Regions from separate parts of the Homo sapiens genome. Here region 2 is linked to region 1. The links are contacts of gene promoters, found by promoter capture Hi-C in blood cells and fetal thymus (Javierre and others, 2016). All regions are on one chromosome and are shown on one strand. Each heading gives the region's core, a stretch centred on a gene start or on the middle of the fragment in contact. The rest is flanking DNA. Distances are from core to core; before and after follow the strand shown. Region 1 holds the start of SLC18B1 (solute carrier family 18 member B1). Region 2 overlaps AHI1-DT (AHI1 divergent transcript).

The links. Contacts are between HindIII fragments. The CHiCAGO score rates a contact against its expected background, and 5 or more counts as called.
Region 2: a fragment that was not itself captured here is called in contact with the fragment with the promoter of SLC18B1 in region 1 in 1 of 17 cell types (total CD4 T cells); the score reaches 10.4 in total CD4 T cells.

The regions. Positions count from the first base shown.
Region 1 is chr6:132,796,690-132,800,832 of GRCh38, reverse strand. It overlaps SLC18B1 (solute carrier family 18 member B1), which reads left to right and starts at 2,196. Exons shown (of 14, transcript NM_052831.3): 1 at 2,196-2,419; 2 at 3,712-3,851. The coding sequence starts at 2,377. RefSeq lists a silencer at 2,129-2,178 and an enhancer at 3,410-3,910. The HindIII fragment of the contact is 1,643 bases long and covers 1,961-3,603 here.
Region 2 is chr6:135,498,380-135,502,522 of GRCh38, reverse strand. AHI1-DT (AHI1 divergent transcript) reads right to left here. Exons shown (of 6, transcript NR_152842.1): 2 at 4,006-4,119. Among named protein-coding and RNA genes, the nearest start is that of AHI1-DT, 2.6 kb to the right of the region's middle. The HindIII fragment of the contact is 6,529 bases long and covers 1-4,143 here.

The DNA of each region.
Region 1 (4,143 bases), core at 947-3,446:
ATAAAGATTTCATAAGGCTACTTTAGGGAAACTTTGCTAGATTGGAACTTTCTTTTCTTTTCTTTTTTTTTTTTTTTTTTTTTTTTTGAGATGGAGTTTCACTCTTGTTGCCCAGGCTGGAGCACAATGGTGCTGTCTTGGCTCACCACAACCTCTGCCTCCTAGGTTCAAGCGATTCTCCTGCCTCAGCTTCCCGAGTAGCTGGGACTACAGGCATGCGCCACCATGCCCAGCTAATTTTGTATTTTTAGTAGAGACAGGGTTTCTCCATGTTGGTCAGCCTGGTCTCAAACTCTCGACCTCAGGTGATTTGCCTGCCTCGGCCTCCCAAAGTGCTAGGATTACAGGCGTGAGCCACAGCACCTGGCTTAGAGTGGAACTTTCTGTTCAGAGTGGTTCTCTAGGTTCTCCTTTACAACTTGCCCACTGGGGAATTTTTTTTTTTTTTTTTTTGAGATGGAGTCTCGCTCGGTTGCCCAGGCTGGAGTGCAATGGCATGATCTCTGCTCACTGCAACCTCCGAGTCCCAGGTTCAAGCGATTCTCCTGCCTCAGTCTCCTGAGTAGCTGGGTGCCATCATGCCCAGCTAATTTTTGTATTTTTGTAGAGACGGGGTTTCACCGTGTTGGTCAGGCAGGTCTCGAACTTCTGACCTCGTGACCCGCCCACCTCGGCCTCCCAAAGTGCTGGGATTACAGGCGTGAGCCACCGCGCCCGGCCCTCACTGGGGAGTTTTTACATAACCTTCAAGAACCAAGGTAACATCACTTCCTCAGGAAGTCATCCAGGACCCATTTGCCAAAGTAAATGGTTCTTCCAATATGTTTGTATACAACCGATTGCATTATAGTAGATTATTAATTAGTGTGAATTTCATCTGCTAGAAGGTGTGCTACTTGAGGGCAGAGTCTGGATGGGGCTCATTCCTCTTTAAATTCATAATGCCTGGCACAAAGTGGTAACTCAGTCTTTTGTTTTGCTTTGGCTTCAAAACAAGAATTTCCCAGTCCTTAAACTTTATTTATTTATTTGAGACAGAGTTTCGCTTTTTCACCCAGGCTGGAATGAGGTGGCACAGTAATTACAAACTTACTATCAGCCATACTGTGTACTGGAACTGACCTTGTACAGTGGATCTGAGGCAGATTCTCAGTCGATAAAGCTACCCTCACACAATTCTTTTGGATCTTGGCTCACTGTAACCTCCGCCTCCCAGGTTCAAACGATTCTCCTGCCTCAGCCTCCCTAGTAGCTGGGATTACAGGTGCCTGCCACCACGCCTGGCTGATTTTTTTGTATTTTTATAGTAGAGACAGGGTTTCACCATGTTGGCCGGGCTGGTCTAGAACTCCTGACCTCAGGTGAGCTGCCCACCTCGGCCTCCCAAACTGCTGGGATTACAGGCATGAGCCACCGTGTCCAGCCAGTCCTCGAGCTTTAACACTTCCCAAATAGTAAATACGGTGAAAATAAGTGAAACCTATTTTTTATGCAAGAAAACTGTGAGTGTGAGAGTAAGGTAGCAGCCATCATGTTCATGTGCTAACTACTAACACACTTTATCGCCAATGCTCACAGCCGCCCTACGAGATAAACATTATAATCTCAGTTGTACAGGTAGAGAAACTGACCTTGTCATCCAAAGTTACACACTGCCAGCAAGTGCCCTGGCTTGAATCCCTGGCACCTGCCTCCAGAGGTCGCACTCCTAGCCACTTCGCCATGCTTCCTCGATATTCATTAGTATTCTTGCAAATATTTTTCGACTCCAGGTGCTTCACATAGGTTAATTCATTTCCGGTTCAATAGTGTCTGGCTTCAGTAATTACGAACACTACCGCATTTACCCACTGTGAAAAATAATTCACTCTTTCAAAGTTCCTGTATAACCTAATTTTCTAATTCACTTTTGTGTCTTTCAGTTGAGGTACTCCCTGCCTTTTCTGTGTCTACATAAGCTTCCTTTCTTTCGTTTCGTAGGAATAAATTGAACTTATTTTAAGATTGAGGGGGGTACAGCTGTATGGAATATAGACTCATCTTTTTTCACTCTCTGTCACAGAATGAAAAAGGACACCATGATATAGCAGCTGAGGTGGTGGATTAAGATAATGAGGCGGGGGGGGGGCGCAAAACAAAAAAAAAAGGAGCCTTGCTCCACCCCTGCCCCGCCCCCGGCCTCCTCCCGGGGACCCAGAGTCCTGGAAGGCTTTGGGGAGCTCCGGGCCGGGCGGATCGCTGCCTGCAGGGAGTCGGGGATGCCAGGTTCCAGCTGAGCAGCGGCCGCCCGCCAGAGTGCCAGTGGCTCCTTGGAGGTCGAGTCCAAGGACGTGGCTTGAAGCCGGGAGCTGGGGCGCCGGAGTCCACGCACCGGGGATGGAGGCGCTGGGTGACCTGGAGGGACCACGCGCACCAGGAGGTGACCATGAATTGCGTGGCCGGGAGCCCGGAGACCAGCGGCGGCTTCCGGCGTGTCTCTTTAGCAACGATTGAATTGCTTATAGCTTGATCTGTTTCCGAGAGATTGGAAAAGGCTGGGGCCTGATCGTGGGGTTCGGGCCAGCGTTTCTTTTCTCTCTGGACGGGGTAAAGTTCCAGGATTGGATATGTGTCACGGTTTCTAATGACTTTCTAACCTATACCTCTGCTTTTTAAGTACTGTGTGTTTAATGCATTCAAATAAGTATGCCATTAGGCAAATGTAAAACGTTACCTTTCAAGTACCCATTGTTGTTGCCTTTCTTTTTAACTTTCATTTCCCTTTCTCATCTACTACAAACATTTTACAAAGATTCGTAAGACTTCCTCATGTTGCACTGATTTTTTTTTTCCTTCTGGACTGCAATGGCAACCTCTGACAAATAGAGCAAAGCAAATGTATTTCTCTTAAGTTTTTCCTAAAAACAATTTAATTTATAAATGGCTGATGGATTTGCTTGGATATTTGGAACTCAGTAATTGATTTCGTGTTTTTAAATGACAATTTAGCCCTGGAAATAAGTGTTAAATTAACTGATGTAAAAGACCAGTAATTAGGGTAAAAAAAAAGTATTTATTTATGAATTTGTGGGACTTGTCTATCCAGAAGCATACCGCTGTAAATATTAATTCACCAGCTGAATGATTTAGCTTGTTTTCTCCTACTTACACTTCATTTGACTTCAATACTGCCTTAGAAATCTTTGTTTTTTGTTTTTGTTTTTGTTTTTGTTTGTTTGTTTTGTTTTGCTTTTTTGAGACGGAGTCTCTCTCTGTAGCCCAGGCTGGAGTGCAGTGGTGCGATCTTGGCTCACTGCAAGCTCCGCCTCCCGGGTTCACGCCATTCTCCTGCCTCAGCCTCCCGAGTAGCTGGGATACAGGGGCCCGCCACCACGCCCGGCTAATTTTTTGTATTTTTAGTAGAGACGGGGTTTCACCGTGTTAGCCAGGATGGTCTCGATCTCCTGACCTCGTGATCCGCCTGCCTCGGCCTCCCAAAGTTCTGGGATTACAGGCGTGAGCCACCGTGCCCAGCCGAAAGCAGTACGTTTTCAAAACGGCAGTAATGTACAAGGATTGTGTTCCATTTGATCAAATGTGCTATATTCAAAATAGCCCTAAGCTTAGCAAATGATATCTTCAGAGTGCAACATATGTGCACAGAAATCACATTTGTGTACTTTAATCAGTAGTCTCAATTATATGCCTAATTGCTGCATGTTTGCATTCAAGGTGATGATCCTGCAGGAAGTGCAGGAGAGACCCCCGGGTGGCTTTCGAGAGAACAGGTTTTTGTACTGATATCGGCAGCTTCGGTGAACTTAGGTTCCATGATGTGCTATTCTATACTTGGACCGTTTTTCCCCAAAGAGGTAAGACATTTTTAAATCCTTAGGACCTCTGTTTTTTTGTTTGTTTGTTTTTTAAAAGCCTTTTGAATTATTTTATTTTATAGTATATAAAATGTAAAAATCTGCATATAGGACAGATGGTGTATAGAACTCCAGCCAATAGAATACTTCTTATAGAATGCCTGATACCAGGAAAAAAAATCCAGTCAAAAAGAACATCTTCTTGGGAGGTAATTCACCTAAAAGTAGTTGATCTTCTGAGAATTACTTTTCTTACCATGTAGTCTGATTAATCTTTATTTGGTTTCTGCAA
Region 2 (4,143 bases), core at 981-3,480, 2.7 Mb before region 1:
AATACAAGCAAACTAATACAGAAAACTAATACAAGCAGTAAAGCCAACATCTGTTCTGATTGGTAAATGCACATCCTGTAAGGGATTTAAATATTTTGCATATCAGTCACATTTAGGCATTATATTATTCAAGAAATTCACTATTCATTATGTATTAAATGTGTCGAATACCCTAAATCTATTTTATTCCTAAACGGTTCAATTTATATACATACATATATATATACACACACACACACACATACACATATATGTGTATATATATTTATACATATATGTGTGTATATATACATATATGTGTGTATATATATACATATATGTGGATATATATTTATACATATATGTGTGTATATATGTTTATACATATATGTGTGTGTATATATATATATATACACACAATTTTTTTCATGGATACTCAGCCAATTTTTAGAATTATTACCATACTACCACTCTTAATTGTTTGCCTCTCCTAGGATAGCGGAGTGCCCTTGGTCTTGCACTCTCGACTAATGAGAGCTAAAGCAACATATCTGCTTTATTCAGTTTGAATGGGGCTCATTAATATGTTTAGTATATACTCAACTGCCTGCTGAACATCCCACTCCATACATCCCATTGCAACTAAACATCTTTTCCTCCATGCTTGCTCTTCCTGATTTTTTGTCGTTAACTGATTAGCCATTCTCCACCCAGTTACCTGAGCCAGAAACCTCGGCACCTTTCAAACTTCTTTTATAGTTTTAAAATAATTATAAACTTACAGAAAAATTGCAAGAATAGTATAAAGAACTTCTGCTTTCGCCCAAATTCCCTGTTAACATTTGCTTTATCATTTTCTTTATGTATATTATTTATGTTTATATTTATTTACAGTATTTATGTATACTTTTTTCCTGAACCATTTGAATAGGTTGCAGATATGAAGCCTCATCACCTTTAATACTTCAATATGTATTTTCTAAAACCAAAAATATCTATGTCACTATAGTCATCAAAATCAGGAAATTAATATTGTTAAAATACTACCATCTAATCCAGAGACCCCATTCAAATTGTTAGTTGTCCCAATAATATCCTTATAGCAAAAGGATTCAATTCAGAATCATGTATTCCACTTAATTGTCATGTATCTTAATTCTCCTTCAATCTAAAAACGTTCTTTAGTTGTTCCTTTGTCTTTCATGACCTTGATCTTTGAAGAGTACAGGTCTATTATTTTGTAGAATGTCCCTCAATTTGGGACATTTGGGTTGTCTGATTTTTTCCTCACGATTGATTCGGATTACACATTTTTGGCAGGAATGTCACAGAAGTGTATTCTAAGTGCCTCTAACCAGGACATACACGATGCTGATTTGTCTCATGACTGCTGATGGTAACTTCGCTCACCAGTGCCAGATTTCTACACTGTCAAGTTTTCTAATTTTTCTCTGTGTAATTAATAAGTATTTGCTGGAGAGATACTTTGAGACTATATAAATATTATATGTCTCTTAATACTCTCACCCTCTAGTTTTAGCATACACTGATGATTCTAGTCTGAATCAACTGTTACTATCATGACTGCCAAATAATGATGTTTCTACATATAACACTGTCTACATTCATTACATTTAGTTGGCATTTTTATGTAAGGCAGAGCTTTTCTTTATCCTGATTTTTCAAAAAAATCATTTATTCATTTTAGTATGGGCTCAAATATTCCTATTTTATTTAGCGGACTATAATCCATTAACATTATATTGGTGCTCAGATTGACCCAGATGTGGCCAGTGGTGGCTCCTTCAAGCTGGCTTCTGTGACCTTTTGATATGTTTCTTCATTCTGTATTAACTTCCTTAACTTCTGGTGCAACAAGAATTTTCCAGGCTCCTGTTCTAAAATCAACCATTTCTCCAAGGGACCCAGTTACTTTTAGTGAATAATACTGTTCAGAAACCAAGATCTAGGCACATGTGCTCATTGCTTCTAGTATACCATTACTCTGAAACCCTTTCAGCAGATAGAGCTAGGAAGAGCATAATAGATAGATACGCACACACATACAGACATACTTTCCTCTATATTTATTTTTACATATGTTTATGTATATATTGAAAACTATGAGTTGACACTGACATATTCAATTCCAATTCAACATCACCACAAAGGTCACTGTGGAATTCTTCCTCTCTCAATTTGTAACGTCCTTCTCTGTCAGTGAGAAACCTGGCTCCCATTAGACCCAACATATTTATTTCCTCACTCCCCTTTCATGCTTGCCACCTCTTTACTTGCCAAGGGGAAGGCAAAACAGCTGGTCATCGTTTTTTATTATTTCTTATCATTCACTCTTCCATCCAATCAATCACTAAGTCCTGACATTTTTACCTCCTAAAAATTTCTCAAATTGGTCCATTTCTCTCCATTCTGATTTTTCTTAGCCTTGACCATGCCACCTTTGTCTCTTACATGGCTTACAGCAACGGCATCTTAAATGGTATTCCCAGATCTAGATTTGCTTCCTTCCTGTCTGTTCTCCACCCTGCAGCCAGAGTTATCTTTATGATATTAAAATTTGAAAATTTCACTCCATAAAATTCTATAGTGGTATTCCACTGACCAATACTGTCTGGGTCTCTTCATAGCTTGTTTAACTCTCTTGTTTTGTCTCCTCCAAAAGCCCCTAGTCTCATTCTCTACCTTTTAGTTAGCCAACTTGAACTTTTTTTTTTTTTCTTCCAGTTCTTGTATTATACCAAACTTTCTTGTAGTGAACACTATACGCCACCTTCTTCTACCTGGAAACCCTTCCTAACCTGGACAACTCTACACATTATTTTGGTCTTTACTTAAATGTCACTTCTGCTATGAAATATTCCCTGACCTCCCCCACCCCACTGCACCTCTGCATGCTACTGTAAATGGAGAAGCAAGAGATGATAACAGGGTTACACATCCGCTAGTCTGGGGATTGTATTCTGAAACTAACACCCTACTAAGAATGAGCAGTCAGAGTTATAACTTCCCTTTGGAAAAGCAGGTACTTAAATGCAGTTGTGAGGACAGATGAAAAGTACATAAAACACCTACAATGCATACCTCCTAGAAGGAGCTCAATATATGTTATCCATTATTCATTCAACAAATGTTCATGAAATGCCAACTATTTCATAGACACTGTGGTAGATGCTGGGGATAGAGAAAATACAAAGTAAACTATGAAACTATAGAATGAGCATCCAAAGTCTAATATATAGAATGAGTATCCGAAGTCTAATAGGGAGTAGGAGTGTTTGAAGGAGTCAGTCAACCTGCTTAAGATTCAAAGGATGGACAACATTTGGCTGTGATGCAGGAGTGTAAAAGGAGGAATTTTCAGGAAGAGAGGACAATATGAGTAAGGACGGGGCGTGAAAGGCTATGGATTGTTTTTCATGGTACACATAATTCAATGTTGCATAAAACTGCATGGTACACATGATTCAATATTGCATAAAATTGGAACAAGAAGCTAACGAGAGATGAAACTAGTCAGGGAGATGGAGAATCTTGTATCCTAGGCAAAGTAATCATTTTCTCTTACAGATTGCCTTTCAAAAATTTTCAGCAGGAGAGTGCCATTATCCGATTTACATTTTTAGTCAGGTCATTCTGATAGCAGTGTGGAGAATTTAAGAGTCAAACTGGAGTCAGAGAACTGGTAAAGGGCCCATCTGAGGAAGTTAAAAAGAGAGAATGGATATGCTTTGGCATAAGATGCATTTAGGATACTCTACTGTTCTTACTAAAACACTGGGAGGATTGTGGTGGCTTACAGCAAGATAGAAATCTAGGAGAGTATGTTTAGAACGGAAAGTTGAACAGCTCAGTTCGGTACGCATTGGATTAGTAATCTTTCTCGTTGCTTCCTCACAGGATTTAGGGAAGCACAAGACATATAGTTTGTAAGGTGTGGCAATGTCAGTAAGAATGGAAAAGCTGGCCTCCATAAACTCTTACTGTACAAATGAAGCAACAGCTTACAGCGGGTGGCTGTAGGTACAGGAAATGGCCTGTATTCACGAGTGTATTCACGAGTCCACGAGTAGCGCATCTAGTATTTTTCCAGCCCTGGTGACTCAGAGCTGAAGATGGCGCCTGTGGCAGAAATCAGAAAAGTGG